Regions from separate parts of the Homo sapiens genome. Here all the other regions are linked to region 5. Evidence: promoter capture Hi-C in 16 types of primary human blood cells and fetal thymus (Javierre and others, 2016). All regions are on one chromosome and are shown on one strand. Each heading gives the region's core, a stretch centred on a gene start or on the middle of the fragment in contact. The rest is flanking DNA. Distances are from core to core; before and after follow the strand shown.

What was found. The method cuts DNA at HindIII sites, captures the fragments that hold promoters and counts their contacts. A CHiCAGO score of 5 or more calls a contact.
Region 1: a fragment that was not itself captured here is called in contact with the fragment with the promoter of ERP27 in region 5 in 5 of 17 cell types (naive CD8 T cells, total CD8 T cells, non-activated CD4 T cells and 2 more); the score reaches 9.1 in naive CD8 T cells.
Region 2: the fragment with the promoter of DERA here is called in contact with the fragment with the promoter of ERP27 in region 5 in 5 of 17 cell types (total CD8 T cells, activated CD4 T cells, fetal thymus and 2 more); the score reaches 8.2 in total CD8 T cells.
Region 3: a fragment that was not itself captured here is called in contact with the fragment with the promoter of ERP27 in region 5 in 5 of 17 cell types (non-activated CD4 T cells, total CD4 T cells, naive CD4 T cells and 2 more); the score reaches 10.1 in non-activated CD4 T cells.
Region 4: a fragment that was not itself captured here is called in contact with the fragment with the promoter of ERP27 in region 5 in 2 of 17 cell types (non-activated CD4 T cells and activated CD4 T cells); the score reaches 5.9 in non-activated CD4 T cells.
Region 6: a contact is called between a fragment that was not itself captured here and the fragment with the promoter of ERP27 in region 5, in 6 of 17 cell types (activated CD4 T cells, naive CD8 T cells, total CD8 T cells and 3 more). The highest score is 8.6, in activated CD4 T cells.

The regions. Positions count from the first base shown.
Region 1 is chr12:15,886,899-15,891,790 of GRCh38, forward strand. It overlaps STRAP (serine/threonine kinase receptor associated protein), which reads left to right. Exons shown (of 10, transcript NM_007178.4): 3 at 3,030-3,111; 4 at 3,699-3,771. Among named protein-coding and RNA genes, the nearest start is that of STRAP, 7.0 kb to the left of the region's middle. The HindIII fragment of the contact is 606 bases long and covers 1,631-2,236 here.
Region 2 is chr12:15,909,394-15,913,883 of GRCh38, forward strand. It overlaps DERA (deoxyribose-phosphate aldolase), which reads left to right and starts at 1,939. Exons shown (of 9, transcript NM_015954.4): 1 at 1,939-2,021. The coding sequence starts at 1,991. RefSeq lists enhancers at 1,629-2,373, 2,374-3,117 and silencers at 1,797-1,856, 1,877-2,226. The HindIII fragment of the contact is 2,953 bases long and covers 1-2,223 here.
Region 3 is chr12:15,535,334-15,539,984 of GRCh38, forward strand. All of the region lies in intron 12 of PTPRO (protein tyrosine phosphatase receptor type O), which reads left to right. It overlaps LOC105369672 (a long non-coding RNA gene), which reads right to left. Exons shown (of 3, transcript XR_002957403.2): 3 at 4,555-4,651. Among named protein-coding and RNA genes, the nearest start is that of PTPRO, 220 kb to the left of the region's middle. RefSeq lists an enhancer at 1-829. The HindIII fragment of the contact is 6,409 bases long and covers 1-4,651 here.
Region 4 is chr12:15,557,062-15,561,728 of GRCh38, forward strand. PTPRO (protein tyrosine phosphatase receptor type O) reads left to right here. Exons shown (of 27, transcript NM_030667.3): 16 at 394-462; 17 at 3,132-3,215. Among named protein-coding and RNA genes, the nearest start is that of EPS8, 230 kb to the right of the region's middle. The HindIII fragment of the contact is 2,175 bases long and covers 483-2,657 here.
Region 5 is chr12:14,936,951-14,942,025 of GRCh38, forward strand. It overlaps ERP27 (endoplasmic reticulum protein 27), which reads right to left and starts at 1,587. Exons shown (of 7, transcript NM_152321.4): 1 at 1,465-1,587; 2 at 1,002-1,102. The coding sequence starts at 1,558. It also overlaps a transcript of ARHGDIB not described here. RefSeq lists an enhancer at 1,043-1,102. The HindIII fragment of the contact is 1,334 bases long and covers 1,359-2,692 here.
Region 6 is chr12:14,251,493-14,256,333 of GRCh38, forward strand. It overlaps the pseudogene GNAI2P1. Among named protein-coding and RNA genes, the nearest start is that of ATF7IP, 110 kb to the right of the region's middle. The HindIII fragment of the contact is 4,306 bases long and covers 156-4,461 here.

The DNA of each region.
Region 1 (4,892 bases), core at 684-3,183, 950 kb after region 5:
GAGTCCAGTGTTGAGTACAGTGTCCCTAAAACACCATCTCTTTGTATCTATTTGGGAAGAGTGCCAAAGTAAAGACAATTCTGTGCTGTGCTCCCAAGAGGGCTTAAGTAGATCTGGGATTGGGTCCAGGAATTTATAGGTAATCACAATGTATCACTCTTTCTTTCTTGTAAAGCCAATAGAAATATCTAATTTTAGTTTTAATAAGGTTCTTGATAAATCGAAAATGGTATTATCTCCTAGATGACTTGGTCAACATGTTAAGGTATTTGGGCAATTTTTTAAAAATCTTAAACTGGCCTGTTTTGTTGAAGGTTTAAATAAGTAAGTTAAGCAGCTCCTATTATGAGACTTACGGTAAGTTCATTCTGAGGATATGGAAAGTATCAGGCAGCATTATTATTTGCAAGAAACTGGGGTATAAGAGGTAACAGTAGTTTAAGGAGATGACAAGTACTTCGTGGGATGTGAAGAAAATGTTGGAGGGTTAGCTGCTGAAAGGGTATTGTTAATAGCGCTTTACTGTCTTGATTTGAGCCCTGTGGCCAACTAATATATGTCAATTTCTTGCCTGGAGATTGAATAATACATTAGGAAACATTTAGATTAGATCCATTTTAGGGCTCTTACTGTGAATAATGGAAATCTGCCAGAGTTAGTACATGCCCTGTCAGAAAATGTCATGCCTCTATTTTAGTACTGTTTCTAAATAGGAGGAAAAACTACAGACACATTACCTCTCTGGTTAATATTACTACTTTGGTCACTCCAACTCTCTTCTCACCTTTGAATAGACACAGTCTAAGCAGAATCTTAAGATTTTAGAGCTGCCATGTTGGCGTTAGCCTGTAGCTACTTAGGAGGCTGAGGTGGAAGGATCTTGAGGCCAGGAGTTCAAGTATAGCTTGGGCAATATACCAAGATCCTGTCTCAAAAAAAAAAAGAGAGAGAGGTTTTAAGTTTATGGGAGATTATTTAATAAACTTGAAATTAGCATATCAAAGGACATTGCCCGGGTTTCTTTGGAGACTTGTGAATAATTAGAATAGTAATTTTAGATACATTTGTTGTTTTCTTCACTTTTGATGCTTTCTGTCATTCTAATACTTGTGAACCCTTACCACAACCATGAAATGCATTTCACTGTGATTAAGGATATATGTAAACAAAAAACAAAGCAAATTTAAGCACCGTAATAAGTGGAGTTCTGTGGGAGAACAGAAAGGAATGGTTAATTATTGGAGTTGAGGATAAATAGTTTCAAAGAAAAGATAGCATTTGAAATGAGCCCTAAGGGTGAGTAGAACTTTAATAGCTAAGAATGTAAAATACAGACTTAAGAGAATAATATAAACAAGAACATAGGAGCCTGGAAGAAAATACGTAAGTTATTTGAGGAGTGGTTTATAATCTAGTGTTGCTAGATTCAGAGAAACAATACAAAATGAGGTTGGGAAAGTAGATTGGGGCCAGAGAGTTGCATTGGAATGACAGAGAGAGGAGCAAGTTTCCTGGGCAAAGAGAAATGAATACTAGGGAGTTTAGCAGCAAGGCTACTTATAGTTGACATTATTTCTTTCAGAACATATTTATTCAGCCACTCACATGACCCACATTATTAAATATTGCAAGCTTTGGTAGTGTATCATGAGCATTCCTGTTAGATGGTCTTTCATATTCATTAACCACATTGCACATGCTATTAATGCTTATCTAGAATAGCCTTCCCTTCTTTTTCCCCTGATATATTTCTCTTTGCTTCTTCCGACGGCTAGCTCTGTTACTTACATTTTCTGGACAATATCTAGGTGCTTTTTTCTGAGTTTTTATAGCCATATATATGTCTTTTAATTATATTTCTTAAATGTGATATTTAATGCATGTTTTTCTCCTCAGCTAAAGCTCTACTATGGCAAGAACCTACTGTGGGGTATTTTTTGTCTCCCATTTGTGCCTTAGCACTAAGTATAGAATGATATATATTTAATATATTTTATTATGTATTGGGGTAAGCAAAAGAAAAGATACATCTTGCTTTTCTCTGATTTTTTTCCCTCTACCATTTTATTGCCCACTGTGTTCCTGAAAATAAATAGCAGTTGCATTAAAATGGAAATCTCTATGGAACATAGCTTTTTCACTCTTAGCAATTCTTTTCCCTGTCTGCAAAGTTTTCTTGTTTATTTTTCACTGACCTGTTCTGATCTAAAATCAACTTTTTTTTCCCCCTTCCTTAAGCTTTTTTATTTGGGGGAACCCTTTTAGAGTAATTTTGTAAAGTATTGCTCAACTATTACCCGCCCAGAATATACATACACATATAAATGTATGTATACCTATAACCAACTTGTATTTTGGGGTGGGGTGGGACAGAAAAAACAATGTAAAGATTAAAATAGTCAGTGTTAGCATTATATAATCAAAGGCTGATAGTTTGGGGGAAGTTAACTGTACTAGAGTTTGAAATTTTAAGTCAGCTTTGAAGAAGAGATGAAGTGGACATTGTCTCTCCACTATCTTAATTTAAAATTTTACTTAGCCTGTACCAAGGCTTTTCATTCCCTTGTAACATTTTTAAGGATTTCTGGTTTTTTTATTTATTTTTATTTTTTATTGTGCATCTGAGTGGAGAATAGAGAAAAAATTGGCATGGTGAAACTAAAAATTGGTTAAAATGTATGACAGGCTTGCTAAAGGGATATTATGGCTGTCAGCTAAAATAAAAGTAAGGAGGATGGGTTGGTTCATGAATCTTACTTGCTTAAATTGTTCATATCTTTTCCACTGTCAAAGAAAATTAGATTGGTTATAAAGTTTTTACAGAGAAATTTCTTTTCCCTTAAGCTTATTTAAATATTTTATCAAATGAAGTCTGTGAGGGATATTAGAGATAAAGGAGATTTATAATACATTTATGTAACATTTCACATATCTAACTTATTTGGTACTCATCAATATTATAATTGTATTTATCCTTTTAATATATTGGGTAATATTTATCCTACTAATTTTCTCTTTTTTACTTTTAGCAAAGTGTGGGATGCTGTCTCAGGAGATGAATTGATGACCCTGGCTCATAAACACATTGTCAAGACTGTGGATTTCACGCAGGTATCAGAAAATGGAATTTATTTTAGCGAGTTAAGTTGCTGGTACATAGTGTGATAATGCTTTTATACTTGATTGGTGTGTATATTTGATTGATATGTTTTGTGTGGAATATTTGTTATTTCTTGGTTCATATTTGATTTGATTGTGTATTAAGCTCTATGAATTTGTTTCATAGTTAATCCTGTCAAGCTTTTAAGATACTGTGGAACGAGTACCAGTCCTTCAACATGTAAAAAACATCTGAAAAGCTCAAGTAGCCTTCCCCAACTACTAATAGAAGGGAGAAGATAAATTTGAGATAATCAGAAAAGGGCCTCTCACAAGGGAGAGGAGTAGGATCAGGGGAGAATGGGAGAGTTCATGTATATGTAGTGTAGTGTAACGCTTTTGAAGTGGAAAGCTTACAAGTCTTGGCAGTTATGAGAGGTCAGCTGTTCCACAGTATCTTCTCAGAAGTAATTGGTTATGTCTTGGCATCTCTTTGTGATGTCTGTGAGCTAGATTTTGATTTTATTTGGTGTTGAAATTTGAAAGAGAAATAACTATTAAAATGGTTAATCTATTCACATTTTACTTTGTGTTTTCAGGATAGTAATTATTTGTTAACCGGGGGACAGGATAAACTGTTACGCATATATGACTTGAACAAACCTGAAGCAGGTAAGCATAATTTAAACATCAGCTTCTAGTTTTATTTTCTTTTAATTTAAATAACTGATTAAAGAATTTCATGCTCAGTACTCAAATTTGGAAAATAAAGATAGTCATGGCCGGGCACGGTGGCTCATACCTGTAATCCTAGCACTTTGGGAGACTGAGGCGGGTGGATCACTTGAGGTCAGGAGTTCGAGACCAGCCTGGCCAACATGGCAAAACCCCGTCTCTATTAAAAATAGAAAAATTAGCCAGGCATGGTGGCAGGCGCTTGTAATCCCAGCTACTTGGGAGGCTGAGGCAGGAGAATCGCTTGAACCCGGGAGGTGGAGGTTGCAGTGAGCCGAGATTGCGCCACTGCACTCCAGCCTGGGCAATAAGAGTGAAACTCAGTTTCAAAAAAAAAAAAATAGTCAACAAAGAAGAAAATTAAAACGTAATTCATCAGTTTTTGGTTTATAAACTTTCAGTCTTTTTTTCTGCACAGTTTTTAAAAAATAAGTTTATTTGCTATGTTGCTATTGTATAACCTTCTTCCAAACTGAAAATTTATTATGGCAAATTTTTATCATTAAGTTTTAAAACAGTGCAGAACAGTGTTACTATTTTTTGGTAAGAAAGATTGGTTATTTATAGAAGTTGGTGATGGTGAGAATTCTCAGTTGTGTGCACATATTGCTTAGATTTTTGAACCATGTAAATATATTAGCTATTCGAAAGAATTTTAAAAAATCTGCAGTTACAGTTTTTTCATTTCACTAAATAGTCTATGAACTGTTTGTAATGACTTTCTGGTTTTCCATCCTGTGGTTATATCATAAGTGAATTAACTAGTTTCCTGTTTTGGCCCGTTTGGGCTACTTACAGATTTTAAATATGAAAAGCAGTATTATGCTAAACATCCTTACAGTTGCAAATATTTTCACAATGATTTCCTTAAGATAACTAAGCAAAAGTAGAATTGGTGGGACAAAGAGGAGTGGAATTGTTGGAAGGTGGCCGGGCGCAGTGGCTCACGCCTGTAATCCCAGTGCTTTGGGAGGCCAAGGTGAGTGGATCACCTGAGGTCAGGAGTTCAATACCAGCCTGGCCAACATGGTGAAACCCCATCTCTACTAAAAGTACAA
Region 2 (4,490 bases), core at 689-3,188, 970 kb after region 5:
ATATCACAATTTAAAAACAAACAAACAAACATTTATGTAATGAATGGTATGGAATCTGGTTTGGAGTTGTGTTTACTTCTAAAAATAGAATTTCATGTATTGCCTTTGTATCTTCTAGAGATGTGAATGATCTCCAGCCAGAGACCACCAGTAACACACCTACAAGTGGACAAAGTTGTGTTTATTGACATTGTAACAAGGGAGAATGCTTGCCATGGGCACCTAATGTGAGGTGTCTCAGTAAGAGGATGTTAGAAACTACATAGGATTTGGGCCTGTCGTAGGTGATTTGGGGAAAGTTCAAGGAAGGATCTGGACTGGATGATGGTAGGAACTGGTGATAGTAGTGCATCTTAATTCTTATCTAAAACATAGGAATGGAGTGAAGCTAGAACTGATTGGTAAAGAAGTCATAATAGCTAGGATAGGGGCTATTTGAACAATATTCATGGTTTTCTATTATCAGACATGATTATGATTATGTTTTTGTTGATTCATTGTGGTCACAATGGCCTTGGCTGATGCTGTGCTGTGAAATTGTATACGTTTAACCAGGGAAAACCATGGTCCAGTTGTGAGTTTCAGGCCAGCTCCAGGCTTTCAGGGCCTGCTTTTCTCTTTTTCAAGGTTAATATAAAAAAGAAAAGTGCTATAGTATGTATGAGTAAGATCTACACACATCCGAAACATTCAACAGTGGCTGTGTGTGGACAAGGCTGAAAGCTCAATGTAGAGGAGTATACAAATATTACTATTCCTATTTAAAACAGCTCAGTAATTACTGTGTGAACTTGACAATAACATTAACAGCTTCCATTTTTTAAGTATCTACTGTATGCCATGTTATGTACTAGGTGCCTTGCATACATTCAACAGCTTTGCAAGGTGAACATATTTTGATCATCTCCACTTTACAGGTAAGTAGACAGACTATTATTTCCAGAACTGCCAAGTTACATTTATTAAATGGAAGAGCTGGTATATTAATGGGTTCAGCTCATTTTGAGCTCACTGTATTTCCCCTATACCAGGATGCCTTTCTATTCAGAACTTTGATGTCTAAAGTTACAGCAATGGAGATAAAATACATTATTGGCAGGATTGTTCAGAGACTCAAATGCTATCATACATCTATATATGATGTATGAAAGCACCTAGCACAATAACTGGCTCATGGTAGACAAATCATAACTAACTGTACTGTTTTCATAGCAGAGGTGCCTCTAAACGTGAGTACAGATAAGTTAACTATATTGAGATTGTGGAGTGACTCGACGATTTTAACCTCTTGGTCACAGAGAAATCAGGCTGAAGCATTTTACCTTTATAGAATCATAGTATTTTGAAGAACCAAGAAATTGTCAAGGTCTTCTTTTACAGATGAGAAAAATGAAGCTCGGAAAAGCAGTTAATTTGCCCAGGGTCACACATTTAATTATTGCCCGAGCTTGGCTAAGAAACCAGGTCTTCTGACTCCTAAGCCCTTGCCTTCTTCAGGCCACATAGCTGCTTCTTTTCATGATGTGTAGATTAGAAAAGTCAGTGTGCCCCGGGGCCCTTGATTGCACCTTGGTTTCCCTAACAAGGATATGGGATCCCTGCTGACATTTCAGACCTTAAGTTGCAGAGCTCTGCACTTGGATCTTCTTCCTTCTTGTTATATAATCTTACAGTTAAAAGTTTCTAGGAATATTTTTATTACGTGCAATTGGCAACTTCAGTATTTTTTAAAGGGTGTTGGTAGCATTATTTCCGGGAGCTACTTAGCGCTCCGGTTCGGTACCTCGTGGAGAAGACGGGGGAGGGGAGCAGCGAGATTTCCTTGCGGAGCAATATTCCTAGGGTACAGACCTCGTAGCCCGGGCCCGCGACTCCGCCCCGGGAGCGGGCAGGGGCGGGGCGAGCGCTCCAGCTGGCGGGAAGGAGGAAGGGCCGGGCGCGGCGCAGAGGCGGGCGCCTACCAGCCGGCAGCTCCGGAGCTGCCCGCGCCATGTCCGCGCACAATCGGGGCACCGAGCTCGGTAAGGGGCCCGCGGGGCTCCCCATCCCCTCTCCCTCGCGTTCAGCGCCGCCGGGACTAGCGCGGGGCCTGCTGCCGCCCAGTGCCCTGGCTGTGGGTCCCCGAGGGGTTTTCGCTGGGGCGGGAAGCAGTGGCGTCTGGTCAGCCCTCACCCCAAGTAAAGGCCGAACCCGGCACGTTCGCGCCGCTTGTCTTTGCACCTAAGCTTTTACTCTTGTATGCGGAAGGAGTAGGAAAGGGTTAGATTATTATCTTCCTGCCTTTTCGTTCACTCTAGCTCGCTGGTTGGAAAACCCAACAACCCAAAAAACAAAACCCAAAACAAACAACCCCCAAGCAGGTAAAAACAGATAAAAACCTTCTTTCTCCTCCTTTTAATAGAATACTTGTGTAATTTAATGCAGTATTTCCGTAGATAATTTTAACCGTAACCTTGAAGTGGCCGTGCTCGTGGAAAAGTTGTCAGCCGTCTGTGCTCAAAATGTAACACTGCAGATTCATGGGATTTTAGAGTTACAAAGATTTGTTAAAGTACCTGTATTATTTCCCAGTTTTCATCTTTTTTTATATTGTTCAAATACTGGCAAGAAACCTTAGTTCAGATTTCTTTTTTTTTTTTTTTTATTGATCATTCTTGGGTGTTTCTCGCAGAGGGGGATTTGGCAGGGTCATAGGACAGTAGTGGAGGGAAGGTCAGCTGATAAACAAGTGAACAAAGGTCTCTGGTTTTCCTAGGCAGAGGACCCTGCGGCCTTCCGCAGTGTTTGTGTCCCTGGGTACTTAAGATTAGGGAGTGGTGATGACTCTTAACGAGCATGCTGCCTTCAAGCATCTGTTTAACAAAGCACATCTTGCACCGCCCTTAATCCATTTAACCCTGAGTGGACACAGCACATGTTTCAGAGAGCACAGGGTTGGGGATAAGGTCACAGATCAACAGGATCCCAAGGCAGAAGAGAATTTTTCTTCAGATTTCTTAACATGTGAAAAATTTATAATTCAAACAGCAAAACCATGATCAAGAGAAGGTTTAAGCGTCTCGTTTAAGTATTATAGCTTGGATATCTGTGTATCCAGGATCTTTAACTTCTTACCTGTGTGACTTCGGACAAATTAATAACTTTGCGCTTAAGTTTCTTCATCTGTAAAATGGTTATTTTAGTGGTAGTTACCTTATAAGGCCGTTAGGAGATTAAATAGGATACATGTAAAGTAGTTTGGTATATTGTGGACACCTAGTAAGTCTTCAGTATAGATAGTATTAGTATATGGAGTTATGGTTTTAGGGGCTAATTTTGAGAAAATTGGCTGTAAATTATATGTAACACATACAGGTAGGTCCTTTTCGCCCTCCTTAAAAGTGACTGGTACTTAAACAGTCTGCACTTCCAAGAGGTGTTCTGGATTTTTTGTCGAATGGTAAGAGAGTAAATCTATCATTTTAAAGACAGTTGATTTACTAACCTGGTTGATTTTGTTTTAGTCACTGTCCTCTAGCTGATTATGTTTTAAACTCTAGTCCTATCTCTGGAACGTGGTCTTTAGTAATAACGGCATTATTTCTTAGATTGGAATATCCTTGAAGGTGGTGGATATGGGGCAGGTTTGGGGTGGTGTCTTACCTGGGTATTCCCAGGAATATGACCATGTGACTATGCATACATCAAGGATGTGCCCTAAATTTCCCAAAACTTAGACATTTTAAATTTTTCTTTCAAAAAACATAATTGAACCATTTTTAAATTTATTTATTTGCAGTAATTAGAATCAATCACTTCCATTCATTTGTTGAAAAGTAATAGACATAAATAATTGCCAGGTAGAACAATAGTAAATGTGGTTTTTATGCAGCTATCGAAATGATCATAGCTTTGTATTTATTATCTTATTTGTTAAAATCAGATTTTTTTCCTTCACGGGTATTAATCCTTAATCCAAACAGGTTTAAACTGAAATGCTAAAATAAGTTATTTGAATTAGGTACTAGGGAAAAAAATCTTTCAGTATTAATTTATGCAGTATATTAACTGATGATTTTTAAAATAGTTTTCTAATTGAAAGTCTTTTTAATAAACATCGTAACTAATTTCTAAAATAAATTAACATTTTTGCTTCCCTTTTCTTATTACAAAAGGAATTCATGGTTATTGTAAAAATTCTAGAAAATACAGTTAGCACAAAAATGTTGTAATATTATTACTAGTCCAATCACTGTTATTTATGATTTGGTGTATGTACTTCTAGTTCATGGACTTAAAAAAACATTGAGTTCCTTTGAGACTAAACCTGACCCTCATGATTAAAAAGTCTTTAAGGAAAACATTGGCATTTGGATGTATGAAAGATGTTTTCCAAATAGGGAATGTACCCTCTAGCTTTCATATTAGAGGATGGGGCCCAGCATTCTGAGTTTTAACAAATCCTGTGGGTAGTACTGAAGCATACCCAAGTTTGAGAACCAATGGCTTAA
Region 3 (4,651 bases), core at 1,206-3,705, 600 kb after region 5:
TAGAGGAGCCACCCCAGCAGTTAGAAATTCAGCTTAGCAGGAAGCATCAGAAAGAGAGAGTGGAAAGGAACAGCTAAGGAGGTCAGAGAAAACAAAACAAAACAAAACAAAAACAGAATTGCACACCACCATCATCAAACTTATGCTTTATCCTGACCACAGACATGTTCGGGCACGTTCGAGATAAGGAATCATATAACTTTAGTGCTAGGAGAGCTTTTGGAGATAATTCAGTGCTATGTCCTCATTTGAACAAGCTGGCGCTTAGAGAAATGTGACACGCTTTATACATTGCTAGGTCTTGGTCCAGAAACAGTCATTTCGTACTTTTTATCCATCTGCTGCTTCTATTCCTGGACTGGGGTGTGGCCTTTTTCCTTCAAACTTCATTTTTTCTATTAAAAAATTTAACAGAACAGGGAGGAGCCTCATACCCACTTTTGTGACTTTCCGTTCCTCTTTGGAATTTGGTCTTAGGGACATTGGCTTGATTTTCTTAATCTTACTCATACAAACCTTTATAGAGATTAGAAATCTTTAAAACATAATTTGGCTATGGACAAGAAAAAAATCAAAATACTTTGAAATGTTAAGTATTTGGGGGATAGTAGGCTTTTTCTCTCTGTCTCTCTCAAATATGGTTATAGATACATAGAAATCTGTAGGCTGCCAGTCAGCTAGAAAGAAGCTAATAAAATGCTTAAGGTCTTATACTTTTTTAAAAAATTATTCATCCTGTGAATCAGAGAATATTTACTTAGCATTTACTATATGCCACACACTATTCTTGGTTCTGAGCATACAGAAATGAACAAAACTGACAAAAATGTCAACCCTCATTCTAATGGAGAAAAGGAGATGATAAACATAAATATAAGAATGTTAAATGGTGATAAGTGTCATGGAGAAAAGTGAAAGAGGAAAAGAGGATAGGAAGTGCTGTGGGGGATGGGTGCAATTTTTGTGAGGAGTAGAGTAAGTGTCACTGTGAAGGTGATGTTTGAGTCAGAGCCTAAAGGAGATGAGGGAGTAAACCAAAGAGATCACTGGGATGAGATTCTGTAGGCAGAAGGAACCACAGGTGCCCAGCTATGGAAGCATAGTGTTCCTGGCAAGTTCAAGGAAAAGTCAGGCAGGCAGTGTGGCTGCAATGGAACAAACAAGGTAGAGAGCCATAGATACAGGGCAGAGAGGTAGCAAGGGAACAGACCGTGTAGGGTCATTGAAAAGACACTTTCCTGTGAGTGAGATGATTCTCCATTGCATGCTTTAAGCAGAGGCGCATAACCTAACGGGTTTCACTGGGTCACTCTGGTGATAATAGATTGTTCAGGGCAAGGATAAGAGCAGGAAGGAGCCAATTAGGTAATATGACCATACATCCCTGTTGCCTTAGACAATACCACTTTGCAACTCTTATGGATTATTTAAAAGGCAGTAATCCTCTTTAGGATTTGGGGCAAGGCTTTTCTGCCCCAAAAGTGTTCCCGTGTGGACATTTTTGATAAATTACATGGTCACCTTAAAGTTTAGAGAACACTGAGTCTGTCCAGATAAGAGATTATACTTGTTTAGGTCAGACTGGGAGCCACAGAGGCGATGAAAAGTGGTCAGATTCAAAATTTATTTTGAAGGTGTTGCTGAGAAAATCTGCTGATGGACTTAGATGTTGTCTATGAATGAGTAAAAGCAGCCTAGAGACACAGCAAGATTTGCGGCCTGAGCAATTGGAAAGACAGAGGTTTGATTTATTAACTTGGAAAAGATTATGGGACAGGCTGGTTTGGGGCAATGTCAGAAGTTCAGGTCTGGGTGGGTCAACATTTTGAAGGTTCCTATGAAACCATTAAATAAATACTGAGCAGGCAGTTAGATAAAGGAGCTTGGATTCAGTGAAGACTTCAGGACTAAAAATATAAATTTGAGTGTAGGCAGGCGACAGATGTGATGAGTTAACAAAGACTCAATAAAGAAAAAATAATGCTATCCAGGAACTAAGCCCTGGGCCACTCCAACTTTAAGACATGGAGATGGTGAGTAAAAACCAGCAAAAGAGACTGAGGAGCATTGGCCAGGGAAGCAAGAAAGAGCACAGAAAAGTGTCCTGTCCCAGGAGCCAAGGGAAGAGAAAGCCTCAGCGAGTGGAGATTGTCCAGGTCAAACCTGTGAACAAATCTGGTAAGATGAGGAATGAGAATTGACCACTGATCTTAGCAGCCCAGAAGTCACTGGTGATTTTGAGAAGAGGCATTTGGGTGCCATGGTGACGGGAAAAAAAAATCTAAAATGCACAGGAGCTAAAGAATAGAAGAATCCAAGAATTTTTGGTAGTTTTTTGTTTTTATTTTGTTTTCTTTAAGTGAGTGAAAACAGCTTGTCTGTAGACTAAGCAAAATGATCCAACAAAACAGAGAAAACTGTTGATGCAGCATAGTTAGAGGTGAGACTTGGTGTGATGTCCTTGACTGGAGCAGAGGAGATGGAACCCGGGGATCCAGTGGAAGGATTGGGTCTGGATATATCTTCAGGAAGACAATGACAGACAAACAGACAGTATGGGCATTAATGGGATAGTGAGCAGAGTGAAGATCATGATAGCCGCTTGTGGATGGTTTCTTCTGATTGACTTCTTGTAAGATAAACACATGCATGTTCTTTAGGTTTGCAGGGGGCAATACCTGCCATGCTACTCTTCTGATATATACCTCCATGGCCAGCAGCCCCATGCAAGCATTGTTTTCTGATTTAGGTTCTCAGTGACAGCCATGCCACAGTCCCATGGCTCTGTACCTGGGCCTGACACTAACCAATCCCTCGCCTCAATATACCCCTCCTCACTGCAGTCTTCTGAGTGTCACCATGGTTTGTCAACTGCCCAGAGGCATACCAAACCACTTTAGTGCTTCTTTTTTTTTTTGAGACAGAGTCTTACTCTGTCATCCAGGCTGGAGTGCAGTCTCTGCTCACTGCAACCTCTGCCTCCCAGGTTCAAGCGATTCTCCTGCCTCAGCCTCCCAAGTAGCTGGGATTACAGGTGCGCACCACCACGCCTGGCTAATTTTTGTATTTTTAGTAGAGATGGGGTTTCACCATTTTGGTCAGGCTGGTCCCGAACTCCTGACCTCTTGATCTGCCCGCAAGTGCCTCCCATAGTGCTGGGATTACAGGCGTGAGCCACCGCGCCCGGCCCACTTTAGCACTTCTCTAAAGGCATTTCTCCTGCCCATCATAAGGTACTGCATATTCTGCAGGTACATGATTCTCTCCAATGTATTGGAAGAATCTGAAGGAGGGACACATAGGGCAATGACTGTGAAGTCTGGCATTGACCTAAATACACAAGCAAGTGCCCACTCTGGAAAAGTTGGTCTTCTAAGCAAAGGAATTTTTCTGGAGGCCTGGTCATCCCCACTTATATGCAACTGACTGGGTAACTCGCTGATTGGGAGGAAAACAGGTGTAATAAGGACCCTTGATTAGGAGTCCAGAGGTGTGGATCCCAGTTCTTGCCCTCACAAACAAATTGTGTTACCATAGCAAAGTAACTCAGACCCTCTGAATTCCAGCTTCCTATCTATAAAATGAGTCTGGGCTAGATGATCTTTTATGCTCCTTCAACTTTTAGAATTTCATTCCATACCTGAGTTCAGAATAAAAGCAGCAAGATTAATGATGCAATGAAAGTGCTGATCTTATTCTAAGAATTTTGCAATATATGACTCCTAACAAAATAAAAATGCTAAGTAAAAGCACATGCTCCTGGAACCACTGAAAAGGAGGTATTCAGATATTTGTTTTGAAACTAAGTGAAGAGAATCAGAAGGGTGAGGGGGTGGGAAGTGGGTGGATGATGAGAAATTATTTAGTAGGTACAATGTATGTTATGTGGGTAATGAATACCCTGAAAGACCTGATTTCACCACTATGCAATCTATGCATGTAACGAAATTACACTAGTATCCCATAAACATATGCAAATTTTTAAAAATTTAAAAAAAAGAAAGTAATGTTAAATGGGAGCTTTCTCTGAAAAACTCTATTGATCTTTAGAAGTTACTTAAGGTACTAAAACTATCAACCCATCTAGTGATTCACAGAAGAAGATATTATACTTGCTATCTCTAAGCCTTAAAGAATATAGGTAAGGCTGGGCACAGTGGCTCACTGCCTGTAATCCCAGCACTTTGGGAGGCCGAGGCGGGCAGATCACTTGAGGCCGGGAGTTCGAGACCAGCCTGCGCAACATGGTGAAACCCTGTTTCTACTAAAACTACAAAAATTAGCTGGGTGTAGTCGTAGGTACCTGTAATTCCAGCTGCTCAGGAGGCTGAGGCAGGAGAATTTTTTGAACCCGGGAGGCGGAGGTCGCTGTGAGCTGAGATTGCGCCGCTGCACTCCAGTCTGGGTGACAGACTGAGACTCTGTCTCAAAAAAAAAAAAAAAAAAAAAAAAAAAAAAAAAAGAATATAGTTAAAAAGTAATGCAAATGACAGACATTTCTAACTCCTGAGAAAATTTTATTTTTATATATAGGAAAAAGGCCTCATAATTTAATGTGTTTTCAGGTGCTAAATATTTGCCTGAATTTTTTTTTTTATTTCCTGGTTTTTTTTTTAAATGTTCAAATTACTTGTTAAATGTATCTAGGAAA
Region 4 (4,667 bases), core at 320-2,819, 620 kb after region 5:
ACAGAGTCTTGCTCTGTCACCCAGGCTGGAGTGCGGTGGCGCGATCTCTGCTCACCACAACCTCTGTCTCCCAGGTTCAAGCAATTATCTTGCCTCAGCCTCCCGAGTAGCTGGGATTACAGGCAAGTGCCACCACGCCTAGCTAATTTTTGTAGTTTTAGTAGAGACAGGGTTTCGCCATGTTGGCGAAACTCCTGACCTCAGGTGATCCGCCCACCTCGGCCTCCCAAAGTACTGGGATTACAGGCGTGAGCCACCGCACCTGGCCTAGCTTCTTCTTTTTTTTAATTTAATGCTGTGATGATAAGCTGGTAAAGACTCTCTTTACTTTTAGGTCAACGTAAGAATGCTTTGTCAAGCAGTAACCTTGATTTTGTGGTTCCTTTAAAACAGGGAGTGTGGAGCTGGTACATTTGTCAATTTTGCATCCTTAGAGAGGGATGGAAAGCTTCCATACAACTGGTGAGTATTGTTTTGGAACAAGCTTCTACATAGTTTAACTATGCTGTGTGTGCTCCAAAGTCGATTTTACTATCCTTTGGGGATAGTTTTGTCTGATTATCCTTTTGTAATTTCGGTGATGGTAGACTTTCAATGGCTAGATCTTCACAGAATATAATGGTTTATATAAGCTCAGTGCAGTTCTGAAGTAGGGAAAGCATCATGGTCTGCTCTGTATTTACAATACTAAACAAGGGACTGAAACAGTGGTGCACACGCAGGAGCCCATACCTGTGCTGAAAAAGGGCTTAAATGCAGGAGCGCCGCTGAACAAGTGGTGGCTAAAGGCACGAGAAGAGATTCCAATGAAGCAGCTTGCGACAGATCGGCTTCTCCATTTTATTTTATATTTTATTTTATTTTATTTTTTATTGTTTTGTATTTTTTGAGGAGACAGAATCTCCCTCTTTCGTCACCCGGGCTGGAGTGCAGGATGATCTCAACTCACTGCAATCTCTGCCTCCTGGGCTCAAGTAATCTTTCCACCTCAGCCTCCCGAGTAGCTGGGACTACAGGCGCGCACCACCAAATCTGGCTAATTTTTAGATATTTGTAGAGATGAGGTCTCACTATATTGCCCAGGCTGGTCTCGAACTCCTGGGCTGAAGTGATCCTCCCACCTCGGCCTCCCAAAGTGCTGGGATTACAGGCCTGAGCCCCCATGCCAACCCAGCATCTCCATTTTAAACTCACATTTCAGTGCCTGAGGCAATAAGAGCCACCACTTCTGTTAAAAAGTTGTACAGCCCAGTATTCAGTTCTCATGCTTACAGATAAATAAATATCAAAGCCAGTGAAGTTTCATAAGAAAACATGGCTTCATTTTTCTTTATGCTTGAGTATTAAGGACCCGGAAGGAGGAAGTGTTCGAATTTTAAAGAGCATTGTCAAGAGATTAAATTGGTTGACATTATACCTGACAATGATAGATGAAGATTAACAATCCTATCCAGTTCAATCAATGCCCAACAAAAGTACTAATTAAGTAAACATTTAACATGAAGCTAACATGTACTACTTACATGGTCTAGTTTGTTTCTTTTGCAAGAAACTATGCAAAGTATATGTAAATGAATATATGTCATATTAATCATTGTTCAGTTATTTCTTTCTGTTTACTAACTCCCTAAAATGGTTAATCTTAAAGAAATACACATGGGAGACTGGAAATTTTACAGAATCAATGAGGGAGGGAGAACTTTATTTAGGATATAAATTTTACTTCCCTCAGTGTAGCTGATACTCACTCTAGTTGAAAATCTAGTTGAAACCAGATTTCTTTTAATAAGGCAATATGTTGTGCCATTTAAAAATTTTAACATGAGTAGAATTTTGCTATTAAAAAACAACCCAACTGTGAAGAAAAAGAAATCCATCAACCCTTGATGGTGAAAAGTTAGGAAACGTTACTAGGTTTGTTCAAATATATTAGCACTCTTTCCAAAATTAAGAGGTTGACTCACTGATACTTGTTTCATGCCTGGTTCACCCTTGGGAGGCCCAATGGGAGATCAGTGATGAGTGGCCCATCTAGGAACCAATCCAATTATATGTATTTAATACTTGTGACTCATGAGAGATAGATATTAACTAACTTCACAGCCAGTCACAATTCATGGAATTTATGGGAGACCAGTCATGGGAGAGCTGAAGCAAAAAAGAATTCACTTCAGGATCTTTCTATAAAATCAAGCACATTTTGCAGCTCTTCACAAAGACAGTTTTGCCGACTCTAGCATTTTCTAGCTGACTGAGAATAGATATCTCAGTGAAGATTTGTAATAACTGAAGTGACAAGGTGACAGTATTTTTCCCCCTAATTCTCAGAATAACTATAGATGCAGTCACAGGATATTTTAAAATCTATATTAATGGGTGTTCTATTTGACAAGTGGTTTGAATATCTGAAACCAGGCATTTAAATCAACAGTCTGAATTAGAATTGAAGTGAAGCTAAACTATTTTGCTCCTACTTAGCTGAATATCAGTGAGGTCACAGACTAAGTAGTTGATGAGCTACTTATCTTGAATGAATGATATCCTTGTATCATCCATACCTCTGTTTTAAGGGTTATATTTATAAATTTTATAGTAATTTAAAAACAATACAGAAAGTCACACCTAGTAGTGCAGCTTTATTAAGAATGTCTCTTAAAAGCTTAGTCTTCACCGGAATCAGTATATGTAAACTGACCATTTTTATTTTCTCACACAAGCTGCTGTTTAGCTGTCAAATGATGTTACAGAGGTTTCTTAAAATAGGCTTAAGCATAGGAAGAATAATATCCAAGAATAAGCTTCAAGATAACTAATGAGGCATATAAGTGCTTCATTTAACTGAATGCAAAATGTAATCACCTGGTAGCAGACTAATTAACACAAAGTAAGTTGAAAGAAATATATCTGATTACAATAAGGTCATGTGTGAATAAAAACTGATTTTGTCAATATTGTAGCATTTAAGCCCGCACATTTATATTTCACAGAATGGATTAATATTTAATTGTAATTAAGGTGCTTGTCATATTAATTAATCCCAATAGGTAATTTACTGATATCTATTCACAGTTTATATTACTAACTCTTGCAACTTTTTCATCTTTCCATCTGTTGTCTATTAATGCACACAGGCGTAGGAGTATATTTGCTTTCTTAACCCTGCTACCCTCATGTCTTTGGACTGATTATCTTTTGGCATTTTATATTAATCCTTGGTAAGTGATTTTTTTTTACTGTTTAACACAAACTCTTTAAAAGTTAGCTTTCAAGAAGTAAACAAAAAGGAAAGTTTCTTTTTAACTATTTTGTATGTTCAGTAACATCTAAAGTTATTAATCATGTATTGAAGTGAATTAAAGCAGTTACCGGTACAAAGATATTAACTATAAGGTTTTCCGTTAAATTTTTTTCCGTGATGTTGTTGGCAAGCGTTTTTTCCCATTTAGTACTAGTTATTTGTTTCTTCATTGAGTCAATCCATTGGCCTCTCATCTTTGCAAATAATGCTTTCCATTTTCCATTATCATCTTCATCCATTAGAGAGCTCCAAATTTCCAAGAAGGTAGAAATGCATTAAGATGGAGAAATCAGAGTCTATACAATCCTCTGTATCTGAGGCCTCCTTGTTTTTATAATAATGCTAACTCAGTGACTATTAAACAGCTGACTATACGCAAGCCTCTTTGTATGATTATCTGATTTAATTTTCCCCCGCAATCCTGCAGAGAGTATTACTAGTCCCATTTTAGAAATGTGGAAATAGGGGCTTACGGAGATTTACTGTCTTAGTAGCACATTCCACTATGTACAGAATCCAGGTTCCAAACTCAGGTCTCTCTGAAATCTATTCTTTCCTCTGTAAAGAGCAGACTCCTTTAATTTCTTATTTTCTTAACTTCTGGATCATTTTAATAATCAAATCTTGAAGTGTTCCTTTTGACTTTTTAATATGTAATGATAACAGTAACCTTGAATTCTGAGACTAAAGAATTAAGAACTCTTTCTTTTCCTGTGCTATAAGATAAAAGGTAGCAGTTTCCAGGGGAACTGACAAGAAAATCATTGTCCTTAAATATTAATACCTAGTGTTTAGGTACTAAATTATGTACAGACAGATCCATAAATGTGGACAACTTGAAAAGGTCTCAGAAGAAAACAATAAAAATATCTCATAGACTGGAAAAAAAATAGCTTATGGGGTGGTGGTGCGGGTATGAAAAGCAATCTGGAGCATTTATTTATTCAAAAAGACAATTGACCAAATGTTCTCCAGCTCCTCCAAGGACAGAATAAATACAGCTGGCAGAATTTAGGATTTCAAGTTGCACTGGAAGGAACATAAAAAAGGATTTCCTCAAAATAGAGATTGTTAATTCCAGAATTCATATCTTCTTTTAAAAAAAGAGACTAGAGGAAAGCTTTTGAAACAAAGTAGACATGATGTGTAGGTAATAAAGTCAGAGGAATGTGCTAGATGCTGAGGACCCATTCACTGTTATTCTAAGTTCATTGTTACAGTTTTTAGTATAGGGCTTCAGCACAGTCAACTCCGTATTTTCAGTATTTGACATCAAATAGTTTTCAGGTATGAATAGCACACATAAATTCCATTTCAACCTTCAAAATATACATTTACTTTTAACTGAACATCTACTAATCATCCTCAA
Region 5 (5,075 bases), core at 337-2,836:
CTCTTCTAGAGGCCATGAACAATAATTAATTGAGGCCTCCTCTCTTATTCTGCTCCTTCAGATGGAATTGCTGGAGGATAAAATGATGGCATCTGGCGGCTGTTTAAGTTATTGCACACTCCTCCAATTCCATGCTCTTGCCCCTTCCCCATCTTTCTGACGGTGTTTTTGTCTACAGCTCAGATTTCTCATTCCTGAAAAATGTTGTCCCTGTCTTTCTCCCTGACTTGCATCTCATTGCAGTGATTTCCAACTGTGTACGCAGAACTGACAGGGTAATCAGGAGTTGTAACTGAGAAATGGAAACAGACAAGAAGGTCTGCTATGAGAGAGTAGGGGCTTGATCAGCTGTGAGGATTTCCAGATGCTACCACCAGAGAAAGATGAAAATGCTGGAATGAGGCAGTCTCATTTATGGCTGCCTTTCTTAGTCAAGAAGCTAATCTGGAAGATGGAGGTTAACACCTTGAATATACAAAATGCCATCATTTTCCAACATTTCAGACAAGGCAAAGAGAAAGAAGGAGAGTCTACCATATTTGGGGGAAAGGCTTTAAAAGGCTGTGCACTGACTAATGTCCAGGATGTTTGGCATCCTGTAAACAGTGTTGCTGGATGATATAAATTGGGTTCACTCTGGCCCCTGCCTATTCATAGGGTGCTATGAGAGTATAGACCAAATGTGTTTAGGACAATGGTGGGGTTCCATGAAGGCATTCTTTCTGCAGATACTGACTTGAGCTTCAAAGCATCCATAGATGAGGAGATGCAGCCCACAGGCTCAGAACTCTTGAAGTAAGTATGAGAAAGATATAATTTAGAGACTGGGAATGTCTTGAAAATAAGAGGTCCCAATGGACAAGATGAAATCAAACTGGGTGGCTGTCTCCCTTTACCCCCACTTCTAATGCAGTGCCATCTGCCAGCAGCAGGTGGCTGCTGTGGTTCCCTTAAGGTAGAACATTTCTGGCTCTTGGGGGAATTGCAAGTAGGGAACTAACCTGGAAGAAGCCTATGACAGCCACCTCAGTGGCAGCAATGAATTCCATGGCAGCTGGGACATCTGTGAGCCACGTGGGTTCCTGGGCAGCACCAGGACCATCTAGAGAGAGAAGCAGAAGATGTCAGGGTACTGAGGCAAGAAGAAGCAGCTCTAAATAATGAGGGCATCTATACCTTTTATCTCTATACTAAGGGCAAGAAGAGCACAATTTATAGGAGTACTGTTGGCATTCCAAGGCATAATATTTTTACTAACATATGGAAGGTGACCCTACTGATGGTCTGTCTCTGAAGGATACTGCCAGACTTCCCTACTCTCTACCAGGCAAAATGCACTTATCCAGGATTTCCTGGAAAGCTTTCTAGGTGTGGAGGAAAAGTACCCAGAGAACCACCATGCTCCCTTTCCTTCTCCTAATAACACTTTCACACTATAGCCACCCAACTACATTTTTCTTTTACCTGAGGATTTCTCAACTTCTGCAGCAACTTCTGCAGCCAGCTCACACGTGAGGAGAAATAAGAGGAACATGAACCTGGACGGGGCAGCTTCCATTGTCCCTCTCCTGCTCCTGCTCCAACCCTGGACTTTGTGTTGGGGAGGCCGACTCAGGGCAGCCTACTCTGTAGCTGATTGGCTGTGGGGTTGTTAGGGCTTTGGGAACTTTGCAGCTGGCTCCAGGGGAGCCTTCAACTTCTGAGATAAAAGACCAAGGTTAGTAATAGGGACTCAGAACATATCCAACCAGAAGAAAGTCAGGTCAGTTTATTTAAATAAAAAATGTAAATATGCTATGCCAGGCATTGATCCTAGCGCTAAGAATAGAAAGATAATTATGATCTGATCCAGCCTCTGCCAGCTTAGATTATCAGTGGGAGAGATGGGCAAGTAAAAAGATTATTTAAATATAAGATGGAAAGTGATATAGAAAAATTCATAGGGTGCTATGACAATACATATTAAGGGTATTAGGGACAATGCTAGGGTTCAATGAAAGTGTTCTTCCTGCGGAGGATGCCGGAGCAGAGTTCTGGGTAAGTAAGATTTTGCCAGGCAACACAAGGTAGAAAGGGAGTTTCATGTAAAGAACTAAAGCACAGGCCGGGCGTGGTGGCTCATACCTGTAATCCCAGAACTTTGGGAGGCTGAGGCAGGTGGATCACGAGGTCAGGAGATTGAGACCATCCTGGCTAACATGGTGAAACCCCATCTCTACTAAAAATACAAAAAATTAGCCAGGTGTGGTGGCGGGCGCCTGTAGTCCCAGCTACTCGGGAGGCTGAGGCAGGAGGATGGCCTGAACCCGGGAGGCAGAGCTTGCAGTGAGCCGAAATAGCACCACTGCACTCCAGCCTGGGCGACAGAGCGAGACTCCGTCTCAAAAAAAAAAAAAAAAAAAAAAAAGAACCAAAGCACAGATATGCAAATATAATGTGTGACAGAATTACTAGTAATTGAGAATGATGAAAAGGAAGGAAGTGATACATGTGGACAGAAAGGCATGTTGGGACCAGCTCACAGCAGGCTTTATATGATACACTAAGCGCGGGAGCATCAATTTTATTCTGTAGGTGATGGGAACCACTGAAAAGTCTTAAGCAGAAGAATGAGATGAAGTTTGATTTTGCTCACAAGTGTCTGAGGAAGTCCAAGATGAGATTTCCACAGGCATTGGGATATGTAGTTTTAAGCTTAGGAGAATTTTCATGTGAAAATATTACAAAAGAAATTAGGAAGCCCTAGCCAGGGCAATTAGGCAAGAGGAAGACATAAAAGGCATCTAAACAGGAAAAGAAAAAGTCAAACTATTTCTCCTTGTTGACAATATGATTGTATGCCTAGAAAGCTCTGAAGACTCTGCCAAAAGGCTACTGGAACTGATGAATGATTTCAGTAAGGTATCAGGAAAAAAATAAGTGTACAAAAATTAGTGGCATTTCTATACAGCAATAATGTCCAGGCTGAGAGTAAAATCAAGAACACAATTTCATTTACAATAGCTACAAATAAAATGAAATGCCTAGGAATACAGATAACCAAGGAGGTAAAATATCTCTACAAGGAGAAATACAAAACACTTTTGAAAGAAATCAGAGGTGACACAAATGAAAAAACACTCCATGCTCATGGGTAGGAAGAATCAGTATCTTCAAAATGGCCATACTGCCCAAAGAAATTAACAGATTCAGTGCTATTCCTATCTAACTACCAACGTCATTCTTCACAGAATTAGAAAAGAAACTATTCTAAAATTTATATGGAACCAAAAAAGAGTCTGACTAGCTAAAGCAATCCTAATCAAAAAGAACAAAAACAGAGGCGTCACATTACCCAACTTCAAACTATACTACAAGGCTACAGTAACCAAAATAGCATGGTACTGGTACAAAAGCAAACACATAGACCAATGGAACAGAATAGAGAACCCAGAAATAAAGTCATATACCTACAACCATCTGATCTTCGACAAAGTTAACAAAACCAATCAATGGGGAAAGGATTCCCTACTCAATAAATGGTGCTGTGATAGCTGGCTAGCCATATGCAGAAGAATGAAACTGCACCCTCATCTTTCACCATATAAAAAGTTAACTCAAGATGAATTAAAGATTTAAGACCTCAAACCATAAAAGTCCTAGAAGAAAACCTAGGAAATACTCTTTTTGACATTAATCTTGACAAGTAATTTTTGGCTAAGTCCTCAAAAGCAATTGCAACAAAAACAAAAATTGACAAGTGGGACCTAATTAAAGAGGTTCTTCAGAGCAAAAGGAACTATTGATAGACAATCTACAAAATGGGAGAAAGCATATGCAAACTATGCATCCAACAAAGGTCTAATATTCAGAATCCATAAGAAACTTAAACAAATCAAGAAGCAAAAAACAAATAACCCCAATAGAAAATGGGCAAAGAGCATAAACAGATACTTCTGAAAAGAAGACACACAAGAGGCCAATAAGCCTACAAAAAATGCTCAACGTTACTAATTATCAGAGAAATGCAAATCAAAGCCAAAATGAGATACAATCTCACACTAGTCAGAATGGCCATTATTAAAAAATCAAAAAACAACAGACACTGTGAGACTGCAGAGAAAAGGGAATGCTTATACATTATTCATGGGGATGTAGCTTAAGCAGTTACGTAGTTCAGCCACTGTGGAAAGCAACTCTAAGTAATGAGGACATCTATACCTTTTATCTCTACAGTAAGGCCAAGGAGAGTACTCCAATTTTTAGGAGTAACGTTAGCATTCCAAGGCATAATATTTTTACGAACGTATGGAGAGTGACCAGTTTGAAGATTTCTCAAAAAACTTGAAACAGAGCTACCATTTGATTCAGCAACCCCATTACTATGTATATATCCAAAGGAAAGTAGATTGTTGTACCAAACAGACATGCACATGTATGTTCATTGTTGTGCCATTCACAATAGCAAAGACACGGAATTAATGTAGTTGCCCATTAATGGTGGATTGGATAAAATATGTGGTGCATATATACCATGATATACTATATGGTCATAATAAAAAAGTAAAATCATGTCCTTTGCAGCAATATGGATGAAGCTGGAGGCCATAATCCTAAGCAAAGCAATGCAGAAACAGAAAACCAACTTCCATATGTTCTCAGTTATAAGTGGGAGCTAAACACTGAACACACATAGACATGAACATAGAAACAGTAGACACTGTGGACTACCTGAGGGGTAAGGGAGGGAGTGGGGCATTTTTTGAAAAACTATCTATTTAGTACTAGGCTCACTACCTGGATGCAATATACCCATGTAACGAACCTGCACATGTACCCTCTATACCTAATATAAAAGTCGAAATTAAAAATAGCTAACTAAATAAGTAAAATGTAGATTTCCCACTGGCTGTATTCTGAATGTGCATTGCCTATTATAGTGTAATAGGGGACCAATTTGTTCCCAAAGATGTAAATATCTCCTCCAGTGTGTTTTCCTCATCCCCATCCCCTCTGAGGGAACTCATGAATGTGAACCATCCAGTTATCATATTTGTTCAAAGCAAGAAAGCAGGGAAATGAAGGTCTCAGCCAGA
Region 6 (4,841 bases), core at 1,059-3,558, 680 kb before region 5:
TCTTTTCAAAAATGGTACAAAAATAACAAGAACAAAACCATACTTAAGGAAGGAAGTAGATGGAACACAATAATATGGAGAACCATTATTCCTTCCCAGATTAGGCAGGAGAGCTAGGATCTAGTCCTATCTGGCCACACAAAACACATGGTTCAAGCTTTCTGGAGTTCCGTTTCCTCATCTGAAAAGGCAGGGGGTTAATTTTGTATTAAGATACTTTGAAGAAGGAATAACCATTTTTCGTGAAAGTTCAAGGGAGGATATAAAAAGAAACTAAGATTTAACAACACTTATCTTGTGCCAGGTAATTAGCACTAGGATTTTTAAAGTAGAGACTCAAGCATCCTGGGTTTGTGTTTGTGTTCTGCCTTCTACTAGCTGTGTGACCTTGGGCAAGTTACCTAACTTCTCTGTGTTTCCTTGTCCCCAGCAGAAAATGGGAACAATGGGCCAGGCACAGGGGCTCACGCCTGTAATCCCAGCACTTTGGGAGGCTGAGGCGAGAGGATCACTTGAGTCCAGGAGTTCAAAACCAGCCTAGGCAACATAGCAAGACTTCCTCTCTACTAAAAATCTAAAAATTAGCCAGAAGCAGTGGTACAAGCCTGCAGTCTGAGCTACTCTGGAGGCTGAGGCAGGAAGATCACTTGAGCCCAGGAGTTCAAGGCCACAGTGAGCTATGACTGCACCACTATACTCCAGCCTGAGCAACAGACAGAGATCCTAACTATAAAAAATAAAAATAAAATGGGAACAATTGTACCTTCTCCAAAGGGTGGCTATGAGGAAAACAGTTTATATATACAATGTGGTTTATACATACTATATATACATATATATCATAACAGTAAACTGGCACAAAGTATTGCTATGTAATTGCTCTTATAATGATTATTACAACTTTATAGAGATATTTTTATAGATGAAAAAACAAAATAGATGAGGAAACCACGGCTTCAGAGCTTTGAGTTTTTCTGACCTCAATATTCGGTCTCTCAACTATTGATTACCCTGAACCAGTTAAAAGAAGTGAAAGTCAGCCGGGCGTGGTGGCTCACGCCTGTAATCCCAGCACTTTGGGAGGCTGAGGTGGGCAGATCACCTGAGGTTAGGAGTTCGAGACTAGCCTGGCCAACATGGAGAAACTGTCTCTACTAAAAACACAAATTAGCCGGGTGTGGTGACGCATGCCTGTAATCCCAGCTACTCGGGAGGCTGAGGCAGGAGAATCTCTTGAACGCCAGAGGCGGAGGTTGTGGTGAGCTGAGATCGTGCCATTGCACTCCAGCCTGGGCAACAGGAGCGAAACTCCATCCCAAAAAAAAAAAAAAAAAAAAAAAGAAGTGAAAGTCACAGAATTTTGTAGTCAGTTAGGGAAATCCTACCAGTTTCACAACGAGTCAATCAAAACCTTGCAATAAATACACAATAAAGCTGTGCTTCAAATGTCCTCCAACACCTAGCACAGCTTTTAGAACAGCTAATTTGCTTAGGTGAAGAAATGCTCCAGGCAGGGCACAGTGGCTCATGCCTGTGATCCCACCTCACTGGGAGGCAGAGGTAGGAGTCACTTGAAGCCAGGAGTTTGAGGGCAGCCAGAGCAACACAGAGAGACCCTGTCTCTGTGAAAAAATAAAAAAATAAATAGGCCAGGCATGGTGGCTCATGCCTGTAATCCCAGCACTTTGGGAGGCCCAGGCGGGTGGATCATTTGAGGTCAGGAGTTCAAGACCAGCCTGGTCAACATGGCGAAAGCCCATCTCTACTAAACATACAAAAATTAGCCAGGCTTGGTGGTAGGCACCTGTAATCCCAGCTACTAGGGAGTCTGAGGCAGGAGAATCGCTTGAACCAGGGAGGTGGAGGTTACAGTGACCAGAGATTGCACCACTGCACTCCAGCCTGGGCAACAAAGTGAGACTCTGTCTCAAAAAAAAAAAGAAAAATAGAAAAAAATAACCAAGTGTGATGGTGCATGCCTATAGTCCCAGCTACTCTGGAGGCTGAGGTGAGAGGATCACTTGAGCCCAGAAGTCAAGGCTGCAGGGAGCCAGGATCAGGCCACTGCACTCTAGCTAGCATCAGTGACAGAGTGAGACCCTGTCTCAAAAAAAAAAAAAGCCCCAAAGACATTACTCTTGTGTTGGGCTGAAATCCAGTGAATTGGTGGCCCCTCTCTCTCTCTCTCATCTGAAGGTTTTCAGAGATGCAAATTGCCTACTTGAAATTCTGTGGCATTAGACTTCTGCTTGGATGAGTCCCTGGCCAGGAGTAGAATCTTTTTTTTTTTTTTTGAGACTGAGTCTTGCTCTGTCACCCAGGCTGGACTGCAGTGGCACGATCCCAGCTTAGTGCAACCTCTGCCTGCCGGGTTCAAGCGATTCTCCTGTATCCCCTCCCTAGTAGCTCAGATTACAGGCACCCACCACCATGCCCAGCTAATTTTTATATTTTTAGTAGAGACGGGGTTTTGCCATGTTGGCCAGGCTGGTCTCAAACTCCTGACCTCAAGCGATCCACCCACCTCAGCCTCCCAAAGTGCTGGGATTACAGGCGTGAGCCACCTCGCCCAGCTAGGATCCATTTTTTTTTTTTTTTTTTTTTTGGGACAGAGTCTCGCTCTGTCACCCAGGCTGGAGTGTGGAGTGCAGTGGCGCGATCTCGGCTCACCGCAACCTCCACCTCTTGGGTTCAAGCAATTCTCCTGCGTCAGCCTCCTAGTAGCTGGGACTACAGGTGCATGCCACCACACCCAGCTAAGTTTTTGTATTTTTAGTAGAGGTGAGGTTTCACTGTGTTAGCCAGGATGGTCTCAATCTCCTGACCTCATGATCGGCCCACCTTGGCCTCTCAAAGTGCTGGGATTACAGGCGTGAGCCACCATGCCCGTTGTGTGTGTGTGTGTGTGTGTGTGTGTGACACGAAGTTTCAATCTTGTTGCCCAGGCTGGAGTGCAATGGCATGATCTCAGCTCACTGCAACCTCTACCTCCCGGGTTCAAGCAATTCTCCTGTCTCAGCCTCCCGAGTAGCTGAGATTACAGGCGCCCGTCACCACCCCTGGCTAATTTTTGTATTTTTAGTAGAGATGAGGGTTTCTCCATGTTGGCCAGGCTGGTCTCGAACTCCTGACCTTCGGGTGATCCACCCACCTCGGCCTCCCAAAGTGCTGGAATTACAGGCATGATCCACCAGGCCTGGCCGCCAGGATACTCTTTTAAAGGAGGAATTGGTAAATCCTTTCCCTCTGGTGATAGGGACAGTTTTGATAAAGATGGAAGGGGGAAAACCATGTGCATGACTCCAGACTCAGAAACCAAAACCCAAGTTGAATTCCATCTCAGAGTAAAATCAAGTACTACAGATGAGAAAACACAGACGGTAAGAATTATAAGACTAGTGTGTCTTTTCTTAGGGGATAAAAGCTGTTTGACAGCATCTGCAACAAGTGGTTCACAAACACGTCCATCATCTACTTCCTCAACAAGAAGGAGCTGTTGGAGGAGAAGATCACACACAGCCCCTGACCATCTGCTTCCCTGAGTACACAGGGTCCAACAAGTATGATGAGGCAGCCAGCTACAACCAGAGTAAGTCTGAGGACCTGAATAAGCACAAAGACACCAAGGAGATCTACACACACTTCACATGCGCCACCGATACCAAGAACGTAGTTCGTGTTTGATGCCATCACCGACGTCATCATCAAGAACAACCTGAAGGACTGGGGCCTCTTCTGAGGGGCAGTGGGACCTAGCAGGATGGGCCACCACCAACTCTGTACCCCCCAACCCCTGAGGAAGATGGGGCAAGAAGACCATGGTCCCCACCTGTTCCCTGGACACTTTTCTCTTCTTTCCTTTGTTCTTAGCTCCCCCATCCCCTCAGCTTCAGACATAGGGGAGGGGTTGCCACAGGCCTCCCTGTTTGAAGCCTGCCCTTGTCTGAGGTGCCAGTAATGGCCATGGTACCCCCTTTCTGGGCATCTTTCTGGTACCCCCCAGAAGCTGTGAAGATTCTATTCTACTCAGTAGCTCTCATTATGTAAAGAGGAACCCTGAAATAAATCAGTTGTTCCTGAAAGTTCACAAGAGTAAGAAAACAGACTGAATCGTAAAAGAACTAACTGGTATAAAAGAAGAAGCCAGAAAGTAGTGGACTGGGACCAGAGAAATAATATTTGAATTTAATTAATCTGTTCAACAAATATTTGCTCCTTGCTAACATTTTGCCAGGTCCTATGCTTGTTATACAGTTTTGATCAGACAGACACGGCCCAAGGGTACTTAGAAAGCTAGTTGCGGGTGAAGGGGGAGAGCCAATGTACAAGAAAACAAATATATATAATTGTAAGTTACAGTGGTGCTACAACAGAAAAAAAGAGGTTGCCATGTAAGATGATAAGAAGGTATAAGGAATTTACTTTGGACCAAGCATTCAGGAAGGCCTCTGAGGAAGGCAAAGCTTGACCAGAGGGTAGGAGGAACTCAGAGGACAGTGAAAGGAGAGAGGAATAAGGGGTGGGGGGGGAGGGTGGAGATTTCAAGGTGGAGTGAAAAATGCAAAGATCCTAAAATAAAAGCATCTCTAAGAATCAGAGGGCCAGTTTGGATGGCTTGACCTCTACCCTTCTTGAATCCCCTTTGATACTGAACATTTTGGAAAATCCCGTGTAGCATATACTGTGTGCCTTCCCACAATAACTGATGACTCTTAAATCTCACAAAAACAAATTCAACTGATGAATTCACGTCCTTTTAACATACATTTTGAAGATTATCTTAGCCCAAACCGGCACCCACATCCTTCTGAGCGTACTGACTCACTAGACAAAGCCAACCC